Regions from separate parts of the Homo sapiens genome. Here region 2 is linked to region 1. Evidence: promoter capture Hi-C in 16 types of primary human blood cells and fetal thymus (Javierre and others, 2016). All regions are on one chromosome and are shown on one strand. The core of a region is centred on a gene start or on the middle of the fragment in contact, and the rest is flanking DNA. Distances in the headings are between cores, read along the strand shown. Region 1 holds the start of ANKRD10 (ankyrin repeat domain 10). Region 2 overlaps COL4A1 (collagen type IV alpha 1 chain).

Region 1 (7,533 bases), core at 1,379-3,878:
GATTATTCATGTCTACCATTTTTAGACCACATAGGGTAACTTCCTGATGTTGCCATGGCATTTATAAACTGTCATGGCGCTGGTGGGAGTGTAGCAGTGAGGATGACCAGAGGTCACTCTCGTCACCATCTTGGTTTTGGTGGGTTTTAGCTGGCTTCTTTACTGCAACCTGTTTATCAGCAAGGTCTTCATGACCTGTATCTTGTGCTGACCTCCTATCTCATCCTGTGACTTAGAATGCCTTAACTATCTGGGAATGCAGCCCAATAGGTCTCAGCCTCATCTTACCCAGCCCCATTTAAGATGGAGTAGTTCTAGTTGGAATGCATCTGACAATTATCAGAGTTGAGCAAAATCTGGGTGACCAACCAATTAGATCACTGGCATTGGGAATAGTCAGTAGACACCATCCTATCCACAATCCTCCTGCCACAGTTACAGGATCTGTCTTGGGGATCCATCACCACGTATATATGTCAGTCTACTCCTGTACAGCTAAATAAATATGTATATAGTCTAAATAATCCTTTAAAAAACCCAGTCATCTGAAGTGAGGAAAGACGTACACGAAGTACCCTATCACTATAACCTATTTTATCTTCCTAGCCCTTAATACTCTATGCAAAATAAATTCCAAAGTTAAAAAAAATCTAACAGTGGGTTGGAACCTAGGTCTGGATATTATTCTAAGCTCTGCCACAGGCATGCAGTTTGCCCTTGGACAAATTCCTTGACTTACCACCATCTCTGTTTCACCATTCCCAGAATGCAGCCTAGCAAGTAATCCCTCCCTTTCATTACATGGAGGACAAGATACACTCACGTCCTTTCGCAAAATGGGACACCTCTCTCCTAAGAAAGATGGAAATCAGGGGGATATATTTTAAAGAGATTAGATTAAAATCAACATGGCATGTGAGAAGAAAAATGATTACGTTCTAGAGTAAACAAAACCTGAAATGAGTTTATAGTCTATTCTCACCCTTTTGGTCCAAACAAAAAAGTATTGCTTGATTATTCTTTCCTGCTTCACTAACAGATTACAAACTCCCTGGGAGAAGATAGATTCTATGTGTCATATTTTCCATTCATTAGCAATTGCTCACTGAATTGAAATATTTGCTACTTCCCCACTATAGAGTGTTTCTCAATGTGTTTCATTCAGCATTGTACTCAACAAATGTTTGCTGTATGAAGACATGTCTGTGTTGAGTGTTTACACCACTAGTTAACAACTTCCCTTTGTTAAATCTTAGGTTTCTATTTTTTCGTTTTATTAACCAATGCTGCAATATGCTTTCTCGTGCATCAGTACTTCCCTAGACATCTAATTGCCTTGTTCAATTTGTGACGTAGAATTTTGCAAAAAGGAAGTTTACACAGCGAAAAACTATATATACAAATGAAATAAAATACATGATTTAAAAAGACCGCATATTTAGAAGCAAAGGAAATATTCATAAACATTGTGGTTATTCCTCAATAGTGAAATTACTGATGCTTTCATAATCAGAATAAAATTACATATGTAATAAAGTCCGTGATACTGTCATTCAAAATAGGGGATTTGGTACTCCCTTACATTTATACAGTTCTCAACAAAAAGCCTTTTATTGTTTGCTCTGTCTGGTCTTCTCGCTTATCTCTTAAACTTGCAAACGTATAGTCCTAGCCCACCGCACTCGGTTCCGAAGAAGGCGTCCCTCGGACAAAACCGAGGAATCTGTCCTGCTCTGTAAGGAACTAGGGCTTGCTGATTCCCAGATTTTAACGAGAATCCCTGCTCCCCGTAGGCGCTCCATAAATTTTTACTGGACAACTTCACCGCGCGCTACTGGGCCTCCGGGAGACCCGTGACTCCCACCCGCTCTGGGCGCGGGCCCGCAGAGCCTCAACCCGCGCCCCCGGCAGCCGGGATTCCCCGCCCGGACCGGCTCCCAGGCTGGAAACATCATGGTCCGCACCCGGGGCGCAGCCGAGACCCACCGCGCCGGAGGCCCCGGGACCCGCTCAGACCGCTGCTTGGCCACTCTACGCCCCTGAGCCCCCCACACAGCCAGCCCCGTGACCTCCGAGCCCCGTGACCTCCGAGCCCCGTGACCTCCAAGCCCCGGAAGCCGCTGTAGGCAGCGGCCCAGCCAGGCCCCGCCCCCTCCACCGGAGCTCCACGCGTCAATTCCAGCCAGGCCCCGCCCCCGGCCGCCCCAGGCGTGGACCCAAGCCAGGCCCCGCCCTCTGCCTGGCTACTCCAGGCGCCCACCGCCCCAGGCGTCCTCTAGCCCAAGCCCAATGCCCGGCTGCTCCAGACGTCGACAGCCCCATGCCCCGCCTCCTAATCGGCTGCTGCTGGCGTCCTCTGGTCCAGGCTCCGCTCCCTACCCGGCTGCTCCAGGCATCCTCTAGGCTAGACCCCGCCACCTACCGGCCGCTCCAGGCGTCCGCAGCTCCAAGCCCCGCCCTCCGCCCGGCTGCTCCAGGCGGCCTCCGGCTCAAGCCCCGCCCCCTGCCCGGCGGCTCCAGAGGTCCGCGGCTCCAGGCCCCGACCCCTGCCCGGCTGCACAAGGCGTCCTCTGGGCCAGGCCCCGCCCCCAGCCCGGCCGCTCCAGGCCCCGCCCCGCCCCCTCTGTGCGCGCTCCGCTCGGCAGCCTGTGGGACGCGACCGCGGCGCTAGTCTCGTTCCTTTGTGCTGCGGCGGCGGCTTCTCGAGTCCTCCCCGACGCGTCCTCTAGGCCAGCGAGCCCCGCGCTCTCCGGTGACGGACCATGTCGGCGGCGGGAGCGGGCGCGGGCGTAGAGGCGGGCTTCTCCAGCGAGGAGCTGCTCTCGCTCCGTTTCCCGCTGCACCGCGCCTGCCGCGACGGGGACCTGGCCACGCTCTGCTCGCTGCTGCAGCAGACACCCCACGCCCACCTGGCCTCTGAGGACTCCTTCTATGGCTGGACGCCCGTGCACTGGGCCGCGCATTTCGGCAAGGTGGGTGCGAACGCTTTAAGGCGCCATTTTCCCCGGCTGTCCAGTGGGAGTCGGGGAAAGCGGGTCTGAGGTGCGGGGGACGTGGGGCGTGCCGGGATCGCGGGGCGGAAGCGGGATCGACGGCGCCTGTGCCCCGAGGGGCCTAGGGCGCCTGTGCGGCAGCGCTCGCGGCCCGGAGTCGCGGCGGGGCAGCCGGGGGGCGCGGGGCGGAAGCGAGGTCGGTGGCGCCTGCGTCCGGAGGGGCCTAGGGCGCATGTGCGGCGGCGCGCGTAGCAAGTTTCTAACAAGGCGGGCTCCAAGGGTCCCGGCGCCTGTTGGCCGGATCCTGTGCGAGCGCGCGCGCGCGCGGATGGTGCGGGGCCCTCCAGGCCGGGCCGGAGGCGCGAGCGATTTCGCAGAGCCGGGTATTAGGCCGCGAAGTCGCCCAGGCGGCTTCCGGGGAGCCGAGCTGGGGTCAGAGGCGCGCGGGGAATGCCCGGGCGCGGTCGACCTTCTGGTTCCGCACAGCCTCGCCAGTAGCCGAGGGCCGCGCTGCGGACGAGCTCAGCCGAGGAGCAAGCGCCCCGGCGGGACTGGAAGGCCCCGGCAGCTGTGTGGGATGGAGGCCGGCTCTCCAGCTTCTGGGTTTGCTTTAAGGCTTGTAGCTGGCCCCGCTTCAGCAAAATTAGTGACGGCTGTGTTTATCTTGGATCTAAATTACTGCAGAAGTGGTTAAATTAAGCAGAATTCTCTTCCCGTGGAGGCTTTACGTTCCCCTCTTTTTTCTTAAACTGAAAATTCTGGGGGAACACAGTGCTGCTTTAAGGTTTTAAAAGGTTGGATAGCTACCGTTTCCTCATCTGTGAAGTCGTTGGGGTACTTGCTCTCAGAAATCTTAAATAAGATTTCACCGTGCATTTCAGAAGTGACTGGTTTTAATTAATATTTCTTAATTCACTGAAATTCAGGGATGTGTATAGTGTTTTTCTCGTAAGTGATGAGATGGGGTTAAATGGTTTTGCAGAAATATGTGAGAGGTAATGTGAAATAAGTTACTTTAAGAAGGCCTGGCCCTGGTAATGTCGTTACCAGCTGATGAAGTTGCGGTTTACCTTGCTGCCCCTGGTGCTACATTCACAAAGCAGCTGTGTCTTTTGGAAAGCAGTTTCTGATTCTTTTAAAGTGGAAAAGTCACTTTTCTTTCAATAAAAGAAATGAAAAGGAGTTTTGACGATCGGGGTGGGACAAGCAAGTTAATCAGTCCTCAAGGGCTGTTAGGTTCCTGTGGCACTGTCTCTGAAGTTGTGCAACCGTAGTACCTGCTGGAGAAAACAGGTGCCCAGGGGAAATGAGTTTCTTAACAAACAAAAGTAATAAAGCCTCCTCCCTGCGCTTCTGCGTGCAGCCTTAAATAGATTTCCCGAGGCAGTCAGTAATCTGAGGATTTCCTCCCTCCAGAGTGTCTCTTGCTGTGGTTTATTTTTACACTAAACTTTAGGATTCTGTCCTTTCTACCCTGGTTGAGAACGACACAATACTGGGTGATAGTCAGTGAACAACGATCTGTAGAATGCTTAAAGCCTCATTACAGATGGTCACTTAGAAAATTTAATCCAGTGGTGCCTCCACTTGTCTCTGGGGATTAAAATAGTTACTTTAAAATGGTAATTTTTAATGTGTATTTTATCACAGTTTTTTAAAAAACACCGACTGAAATCACTTTTCAAAAGTCTACTTCCATGGGACTTTGAGTAGTAGCTTTACCTTGGTCATCAAATGTTGTAACAAGAAGCAGTTACTTCATTGTTTCCAGCTGTCTGAATCATAGGGCTCTTTGGTCTTAGATACGGAAGGGGCCTTAGAAAGCCCCTGTCCAGTGTCCAAACATTCCCTTCTGAGAAGAAGCCGTTAGGACAGAAATCAGGCCAGGACTCAGGGCTACCGCTTGCGAAGTCCAGGCTTTCTCCCCAGCCCTGCTAACGGCTGCCCTCTTACACAGGTTTCAGGCTCGTGTTCTTAGAAATGTGCTAGTGGTGCACAAGATCCCCTAACCGTTGGTAAGACTCGTTTGTTGCCAGAGGACTAAACGAGTTGTTTAAAATCTCTGTTGTAGCTTTTATACCATATTGAACAGTATCTTTCCAGAATTCCAAATCCAAGTTTCTAAATTGAACCCAAGGGTAACAGGTTTAAAGCCAGCGAGCCCTGAATAGCTGATTTTTGGTACGCCAAGTGATTTTCATCCGTTTTATTTTTATTGGATTTGCAACCTGTTCATCTTATCGCTAATTAATACTTTCATTTTCACCCAGTGAATTAATAAAGGCAATAAATAGACATCAGCCTTTACTCCCAGGTCCAAGTTGGTTGAAGAGGGTGTTTTGAATCTGTGTACTCTTCATCTCACAGGAGTGTTTACTGAAAGCCTGAAAGTGCTAAGAGAAATGGAAAAAGAAACCTTGAGTTGAGATGGTAGTGTCAGGTGTTTTGTCTTCAGGTGAGGTCTCTCCTCTTGAAGAGAATTGCTTGCAGTCAGGCATAGCTTGTTCCCTAACTGCATTGTGATTGGAGTGAGGGAAAATGAGCAGTCCAGGATCAGAGAACGTGGGTTGAACAGTTGCTTGGCACATGGTAGGCACTTGGTAAATTTGTTGAATGCGCTAAATTATTTTAGCCAGAGGCTATCATGGTATTGGTGCTTGGCCACAAAGTCTTAACTTGCCATGTTAGTCACCCACTAGGTGCATTGCTCAGTTATGCTGTAGGCTTTTTTCCCCCATAGGGTTTTGAAAAGAGTAAAAAAATGTGGAGAATGGGGCCTCTATTGATTATTCAATGAGTATTCAGTGCTGGCTTGTGTAAAAGTGCACAGTTGTGCACACTATAGAAAATAGTCTTTGACTATGACGAGTTTACTATGGCTACACAAAGTTTGTGGGGTTTTTTGTTGTTGTTTTTTGTTTTTTTGAGACAGGGTCTTGCTCTGTTGCCCACGCTGGAGTGCAGCGGCGTGATCTCTGCTCACTGCAACCTCCACCTCCTAGGTTCAAGTGATTCTCCTGTCTCAGCCTTCTGAGTAGCTGGGATTCTAGGTATGCACTACCACACCCAGGTAATTTTTGTAATTTTGTATTTTTGAAACCCCAGTATGGGGTTTCGCCGTGTTGGCCAGGCTGGTCTTGAACCCCTGACCTCAGGTGATCCACCCGCCTTGGCCTCCCAAAGTGCTGGAATTACAGGCATGAGGCACTGCGCCTGGCATTACACAAAGTGGTGGTGGTGGTGTTGGTGTTTGAGATGGAGACTTGCTCTGTTGCCCAGGTTGGAGTGCAGTGGCGTGATCTCAGCCCTCTGCAACCTCCGCCTTCTGGGTTCAAGCAATTCTCCTGCCTCAGCCTCCCAAGTAGCTGGGATTACAGGTGCCCGCCACCACGCCCGGCTAATTTTTTTGTATTTTTAGTAGAGATGGGGTTTCACCATGTTGGCCAGGCTGGTTTCGAATTCCTGACCTCAAGTGATCCACCCGCCTTGGCCTCCCAAAGTGCTAGGATTACAGGCATGAGCCACTGCGCCCGGCCTACACAAAGTTTTTTAACCCACCAATCCCTTTAACGTTTTTGTTTAGAATAGTCTGTGCAACAAACAGTTTTGATAGAAGTCTTGGAACAGCGCAGTCCAATATTTTCTGATTTTGGCTTATTCAATTGTAGGGAAACAAATATTTAAATCTGTATAGTGTTAGTCGTCTTTTTGCATTTTTCTATTTCTATCTACCGTCTTTTTCATAAGGACAAGGGAATATGTTATCTTAAATGTCCTTTAAAATTTGCATGGCATTGGGAAAGAGTGACTTAATCTGTTAAAAAACTGGTAACAATGCCATTTGTCACCATTATAGAATTTCGATTATTCATGTAATATTGAATAGTGTACTGACATGTCTGCGTGTTTTCATTACCCCTCTTGTTTTCGAAGTTGGAGTGCTTAGTGCAGTTGGTGAGAGCGGGAGCCACACTCAACGTCTCCACCACACGGTACGCGCAGACGCCAGCCCACATTGCAGCCTTTGGGGGACATCCTCAGTGCCTGGTCTGGCTGATTCAAGCAGGAGCCAACATTAACAAACCGGTAAGAGTGCTGGTGATGGACTTGGTTTGCTTTTGCTTTTTCTTTTTGCAGTTATAATTATACACGGTATTGCTTTAAATCGAGGCCTTAATTAGAGTTTGATATCTTTACCTGAGGGCAGACTGGAATTTATGTTTCTTCAGTTGTTTGTGGAGGATAGTAGGCCCTTTCCATAGGAATGCTTTCTGTTCATAGAGTGCTTTCACCTGTTGTGTGATAAACTGATCCAGGGTGATGTGCCCAAGGTTATAGCTGGTAATTAAAGGAGCCTGGCCTTGAGCCCAGGTTTCCTGGCTTTCTACTCATAGCTGCCTTAGCCTCATTTCCACAGATAATTATGAAAACATTTTCATCCTGGGAAAAGCATGGCTATTAAGTCAGCTCCAAAGTGAGCTTCAGATACAAGTTGATGCCTTGATGCAGATAAGTGCTAAGTATCATTTACTAAGTGGGA
Region 2 (7,533 bases), core at 2,265-4,764, 700 kb after region 1:
GACTCCAGCACTGAGTTCTCTCCCATTCTTCACACAGATTTGCTCATCTCCATCATCGGCAGCCTTGGGAGTAGTCAGAACCAAGCTAATGATAGTCAGAAGGAGGACGGTGGAGGCCCATGAAATGAGGAACTTGCCCAAACAACCCCACGTGCTTTAGAAGAGGCAGGACAAGTCCCGAAGTCTCCTAGAAATAGAACAGCTCTCATGATATCTGAAAGTCATGGATTTTGAAAGATCAAAATTCAAAAGATAAAAACTTTGAATTTTGATCTTTTCCTGGGCTAGCATTGTGCGATAGGCAACTCTTGCAATGCCAGTCAGGAGCCACAAGCCGTTCTGGTTTTCACTTTTGATACAGAATTTGATAAATTACACAAGATATTAAACACTTTATTATAAAACAGGCTTTGTGTTAGACCATTTTGCCTAACGTAGGCCAGTGTTTAAGTTTTCTGAGCATGTTTAAGGATGGCTAGGCTAAGCTATGATGTTGGGTAGGTTAGGTGTATTAAATGTGTTTTTGAGTTAAAAATATTTTCTATTGGGCTGGGTGCAGTAGCTCACGCCTGTAATTCCAGCACTTTAGGAGGACAAGGCGGACAAATCACATGAGGTTAGGAGTTCAAGACCAGCCTGGCCAACATGGCGAAACCCCGTCTCTACTAAAAATACAAAAATTAGCGGCGCATGGTGGCACACTACTATAATCCCAGCTACTGCGGAGGCTGAGGTTGCAGTGAGCCAAGATAGTAACACTGCAATCCAGCCTCAGTGACAGAGTGAGACCCTGCCTCAAATATATATATATATATATGTATATGTATGTATGTGTATATATACACACACATATACATACATATATATACACACATATATATACATATATATACACACATATATATACATATATACACACACATATATACATATATATACACATATATACATACATACATATATATACATATATACACATATATACATATATACACATATATACGCATATATATACATATATACGCATATATACACATATGTATATACATATATATACACACATATATATACACATATGTATATACATATATATACATATATATACACATATATATATATATACATATATATATATATTTTCAACTTACAATGGGCTTATTGGGACATACCCCATCATAAGCTGAGGTGCGTCTGTATGTGCTGCTCAAGCTCTTGCGTATACCCACATAGTTGATGGAGGGCCACTGCACACATTTCCTGATATTCACTGTCTCAAGCTAGACGTCTGGGCTGGAGGGAGAAAATGAGAATTTCGGGAAGAAGATACAGATTTGCAGCCACGCTTTTTATGCATGATTGGTTTAATCTTTGCTGCTTTAATGTTAAATATTTAAATGCAAGAAATAATAGTAATGATAAATGTAGCTGCTAAGTGCAACAATCCACACTGTTAAATTTCATTCACATACTTCTAGTGAACACATATACATCCTTTTAAGAGTTCAGTTGTATGTCTCATAGAGCAAAGGAGAGTGAGCACTCACGCCTTCCTCTTAGGCAAAGCAGACCCTCTAGGGGATCTCCTTGCATCTGTCCCCCCTCAAACTGTGGTGGCAGTATTCCTGCCCTGACGTCAAGCCTCATGGTGTGGAGGGAGCTCCCGGCGGGGCCTCGCCACAGAGTTTTCCATGACCCCGCGGCACCCACCGCAGCTTTCCCACCCCTTTCCCAGCGGCGGCATTCAGGAAATGGTCCTGCAGATGTCTCTTCTGATGTCTCTTCTGATGGTGGTTGGGCTCAAGGAGTTGGCCTTGTGGAATTTCGGAAAGAGTTCTGCAGTCACCCACTGACTGTGACCCATCCTTGACATCATTTCCCTTTCACTGGATACTTGGTGAGCTCTGGCTTCAAATGTGAGGGCTTTCATTCCCTGAATGATTTGCAGTCTGCTCGTAAATGGAAATCTCGAGGCGCTAGATGACAGAAAGCAGCAGCAGGGCCATCGTGGTCCCGAACGCAGCTTGCCCTGCACCTCTCAGCCACTGCTGCGGACTCCAGCCAGTCTGGAATGGTGCCTAGAATGCTTGGACTGCAAAGGCGACGGGGGTCCTGTCCTGCCCAGTAACCTTTCACTACCTCTTAAAGTTTTTAGGATTCGTATGTGGAATCCTACCTCATGCTGAGCGTCATGTTATGCAATTGGCTAGTTCAGCATCCCATGACATTTTATTGAATTCAAACACCATGAATGAATAAAACAATTTCATTGCCTGTGAAGAAGTTACAGGGTTGAGGTGGAGAAGGAATTGCAGTTTCCCTGATAAGCATTGCTTGTTTCCCTTGGATGCACCCAGCACATGGAGGCTGCCATACCCAGTACACTCAGTGCTCAGTACCAAACCCGGTACCCGTACTCATTCCGTGCGTAGAGGAAGCCCCCGAGAGCTGGCAGCATCTCTGTGTGTGCTTCAGTCCATTGTGAAGATCCGTGATCCTAATATTTCAGATTGGAAAAATCCATTAAAATTTTGATTTAAAGATATGGATTCCATGTCAGCCACTGAAACAGGCCTTTGACAGTAAGAATTTTGATGACTGCTTATTCTAGGTATATTTTGTGTTAACATCAGTTTTTGTTGTTGGTAATTATATTTTCCCCCCACATTTAGAAGCTTCATGCTATTTTAACTTCAGCTGTCCTGGGTATTTGATTTGTATTTGAATTTCTGACTTAGCTATGACGGAAGCTTATTAGAGTATTTGCTTTCCTGAATCATGAACTTGTTTCTACAAGCATTGGAAGAGGAAGGGAAATAATTGGGTATTATAAAATGACTTTCTATCCACGCATTTTAAGGATTTTTTAAAAAGTATATGCTTGCTTTAGATAATGCATTAAGCAAGAATTTTAAGTTGCTCCATGCATGAAACCCTATTTCATGCCTAATTTACAATGCCTAATTTTGGTGCTAAGATTATTCTCCATGTTGTATTCTTTCATCTTTATAGACAATGGCACTTTGTTCTCCCTCCACAAATTCTGAATTTCATCATTTGGGGACACAGCAGTAGTCATCTCCGGCTTTGGCGTATGATTTTCCTTTTTTGATCAGTGCTCTGCATTGCACTGATGTTCAGGAATGAGAGCACAAGGTTCAGCTGCACGAAAACTTTCTGTGTAGTATTTTTCAAGTTTCTCGTTTCTTTCTTCCATTTTAAATAGTCTTTGCTGTGACAGACAATGGTTGTGGTTTTCATTTTTGCCTGACATGAAGTCTGTGGCCGCCATGGATTTTTGGACCTTGCCTTGAGCACACCATGGGAAACAGATGATCGAGGGTCCTGTTGCTCCCTGACTCTAACTGTGCACATTCTGCCTTGAGCTCCAGTGGAAGTGGGGGGTCACTGTGGTCACGTTAGTAGCATTGCCAGTTGCAGCTGCAAAGTCTGGCTTGGACCCTGCTAGCTCCAATAACCTTTGCACAACATGTCCAGCTCTTTGCTCTTCTTACAATCCTGGTGGAAATGTGCTAAAATCTTGGAGGAATAATTTGGCCCCATACTGCATGCTGGTCGCCAGCTAACTGTATAGCTGTTTAAGTGCTTATTCTGTCCGTTTGCTCTGCTCTGGTTCCCATAATAACCTTGGACAGGGTACAGAGTATTAGATTATTCGTGTGCACTTTTATCTGGACAAAAGATTAAGAACGTTAAAAAAATATGTGGGGAATGGCAAGAACCATGTCCATGGAGGAGTCACTTCCTTCTTAGCTCCTTCATTTCAAAGCTCTGGGGATACACAGATTGCTTAAACTTTCTGGTGACATTTGGGAAAGAATGTGTTCTTGCGGTAAAAGCAAGGTCTGGGAATTTGGATTTCTGTGTTCTGTTCCCAGCAGCACGAGGGGTCACCCAGTGACGTACGACAAGTCAGTTAAGCATCGGAATCTTAATTTCCCTATCTGTGAAATGGACATAGAAGGGTCGGTACCTTGGGCTGACATGAAGTTGGTGAATTGTTTGATGTTCTGCTGGGAACCGGCTTGCTCTAGTGACCCAGAAAAAACAGGGACTATGGTGGAGGCTGACCTCATTTCTATTTCTGGCTGTAGTGCTGACTCAGTGAGAAACTTGTAGAAATCAGTTAATCTGGCTCTGGTCCTCAGTGCATTCCATGGTTAAATTGAGAATTATAAAATCTTATCATCGCTGGTCTCATGGCGATACTGCCCATATTAATTAAGTACTAAAAATACTCCACCAAATGTATTAGAAAGCTTCTACATGGACCTGCCTTTCTCATTTCCTTCCTGTCTGATGTTGGGTTACTTGGGGCTACACAAGTCCATATTTATTTATTTATTTTAGCCGCTGTTTGGAGTTCAGTCCTATTCTGGTTTGAGCAGACTTTTCCTATATCCGAAAACTGGGTGCCCCAGATTGGTGACCTTGTGCACTGTAACTCCTTACAGCAGGATTTTCTGCCATTGTGTCCTGGGGCCATCACTGCAGGGTGTATTTAAGGAGCTCTTCATTTGAACAAGTCCTGGTCTGGGAATGTTTTTCCTTCCTCACTGTCACAGGCCTCAGGGAGAAGGAGCCAGCCTTCCCTGTCAAACCTTGGGATCAGGGCCCTCGTGGAGTCACGTCTGTGCTTCTGGCCGACTCCCTGGATGCTGCTGGCCTGAAGGGGCAGTGCCACAGTATGGGGCTTGAGGTTCTTTAATCCATTTACTGTTTGATTCAATTCTTTAGGGTTTGAAACAATCTCTCCCATATTTATCCACATACTGTGTCTAGACTCCTGACATATCCTTTCAACGAAACACAGCTCTATGGAGGTGTGGCGGCTGAGTCCCAGGTTCATAACGTCCTTCCTGCGTTTGTAAAAATGGAGCAGGCAGTTAATTCACCAGTTAAGTGCCAGGACTGGCTGAGTGGTTTGGAAAGAAGGACGACTTTGGATGTTTATGTTATGTGGTGTGTAGCTTGTCGGTTGATTTTTACTTTCAACTAATGCAACTTTGAGAAAGGCACTGAACACTAAGTAATCCTGCCTGTGATCTCCAAACTGTCTGCCTTATGTTTTTAAATCAGCTAACAATGGTTACTGAATCTACCCAATTCGTATGGTAAGGCTGCACTGAAGTCCACATGCTGTAAAGTAAATAGGTTTTCTTGATTTCTTACAATGGTTATGGGTTGTTGTTTTTTTTTTTTTTTTGAGACAGAGTCTCACTCTGTCTCCCAGGCTAGAGTGCAGTGGCATGATCTTGGCTCTCTGCAACCTCTGCCTCCCAGGTTCAAGTGACTCTCCAGCCTCAGCCTCCTGAGTAACTGAGATTACAGGCGTGCACCACTACACCCAACTAATTTTTGCATTTTTTAGTAGAGAAAGAGTTTTGCCATGTTGGCCAGGCTGGTCTCGAACTCCTGACCTCTGGTGATCTGCCCGCCTCTATCTCCCAAAGTGCTGGGATTACAGGCATGAGCGAGCCACCGCACCCAGCCCAAAAAATACTCTTGAAAGACATTTCTCATTAAAGCCCACCATCACCCCATGATGGCCCAAGGGAGGCTAAGCATCTTGCATGAGGTGCACACTGTGGACTCTGCCCACCCACATCTCCTAATGGTCTCTAAAGAGGAAGACGTCTTGGAGGCTCCATCACAGAATCTCAGCACTGAGGCTGTTGCTAACAAGAGAGTTCCATTGATTGAGCGAAATTATAACCAGTTCAGTGAAAAACACCTCGCTATTTGTTACTCTATTTACCCAAGAAATTATTTGGCATTAAGTACATATAAAGGATTGTGCTAGGAATGAGATATAAATATTTCCTGCCCTCAAGAGTTTAAAACACAGTAGAGCAAAACCACCTGAAGTAGTCGTTGCTATCTGTTTCCAGACACTCACTGTGGACTTGCGCAAGGCTGGATGCTGCTTAGATTTATTATGGGAAGTGGCTCATAGGATTATAGAGGCTGAGGAGTTCCATGATCTGCCGCCTGCAAGCCTGGGAACTCAGGACTCCTGAAGTGTAACTGGGTCCAAGGCCAGCGGCTGGAGAGCCCAAGGGGCTAGTGGTACAAGTCCCTGAATCTGAAGGCCAGAGAACCCAGAGTTCTGATGTCCAAGGGCAGGAGAAGATGGGTGCCCAGCTCCAGAAGAGAGAGAATTGGCCTCTCTTCTGCCTTTTTGTTCTATCCGGGCCTCAACTAACAATGACACCTGCTCACCCTGGGTGAGGGCAGATCTTCCTTACTGTCCATGTATTCAAATGCCCATCTCTTCCAGAAACACACCCTCAAAAACACATCCAGAAGTCATGCTTTACCAGCTCTCTGATTATCCTGTGACCCAGTCAACTTGGCACCTAAAATTAGGCATCACGGGCCAGGCGTGGTAGCCCATGCCTGTAATCCCAGCACTTTTGGTGGCCGAGGTGGGTGGATCACCTGAGATCAGAAGTTCGAGACCAGCCTGGCCAACATGGTGAAACCCTGCCTCTACTAAAAATACAAAAATTAGCCAGCGTGGTGGCGCACGCCTGTAATCCCAGCTACCCGGGAGGCTGAGGCAGGAGAATCCCTTGACTCAGGCAGTGGACTTTGCAGTGAGCCGAGATCGTGCATGCACTCCAGCCTGGGCAACAGAATGAGACTCCATCTCAAAAAAAATATATATATAGCCATCACAGTTGGTCACCAATTCCTTCCTCTGTTCTTTACTGCTGCCTTTTGCCTGACTGATGTTCCTCTTCTGTAGGGTGAAAGAGGCCTCCCGGGGTTACAAGGTGTCATTGGGTTTCCTGGAATGCAAGGACCTGAGGGGCCACAGGGACCACCAGGACAAAAGGTAAGCACGGCTGTGGGATTGGGGGTGGGTGGATGTAAGATTGCCCGCATTCTTGAGATAGCGGTGATCAATGACAATGGCATTTCTATTCTGTTCCAGGGTGATACTGGAGAACCAGGACTACCTGGAACAAAAGGGACAAGAGTGAGTACAGTTGCTACTCACAATCGATGATTCCATGCGTGGGACAGGCCCGCTTCCAGAGCCGGGCACCTTTTCCCTCCTTTCTCCTTGCCCTCGTCCTCCATCTCCTCTCCCAGCTCACACAGCACGGGCAGGCAGGCGCGAGGCAGGCAGTGAGGAGCAGCCCGTGACTCCCTGAGCCCCAGTCCTTCCCATGGGGACTGTGCACAGGCTGAGCTCCTTAGTCCTTGGTTCTGCAAACTTGCTTTCCCCCATTTGTTCTTCTTCAGGAATCTCTTCTGGGCATTTTTTAATTTGGGGGAAGGGGCAATTGATGATGTGTCCACAGTCATTAGACAGAGATGACTTCATTTAATGGAAAAGTCATGGTATTTTCAGAGCCAGCCTTGCTCTTCCTCCTCTCCACCTCTTAGTAATGATGAAATGGGAGCAGAGTTATTTTGTGCATGGGCAGCCTTATGTTTGAAGGGATCAGCAGTCAGCTTTTAAAAACTTATTTTTTTGTTTTTTTTTATTTCAATTTTTTTTGG

The links. Contacts are between HindIII fragments. The CHiCAGO score rates a contact against its expected background, and 5 or more counts as called.
Region 2: a fragment that was not itself captured here is called in contact with the fragment with the promoter of ANKRD10 in region 1 in 1 of 17 cell types (neutrophils); the score reaches 5.7 in neutrophils.

What each region holds. Positions count from the first base shown.
Region 1 is chr13:110,910,164-110,917,696 of GRCh38, reverse strand. ANKRD10 (ankyrin repeat domain 10) reads left to right here and starts at 2,628. Exons shown (of 6, transcript NM_017664.4): 1 at 2,628-2,972; 2 at 6,927-7,079. The coding sequence starts at 2,763. RefSeq lists silencers at 1,787-1,946, 2,077-2,736, 3,007-3,376 and enhancers at 1,314-1,988, 3,487-3,616, 3,340-4,016. The HindIII fragment of the contact is 15,206 bases long and covers 1-7,533 here.
Region 2 is chr13:110,213,252-110,220,784 of GRCh38, reverse strand. It overlaps COL4A1 (collagen type IV alpha 1 chain), which reads left to right. Exons shown (of 52, transcript NM_001845.6): 3 at 6,770-6,859; 4 at 6,959-7,003. Among named protein-coding and RNA genes, the nearest start is that of LINC03082, 88 kb to the right of the region's middle. The HindIII fragment of the contact is 1,530 bases long and covers 2,750-4,279 here.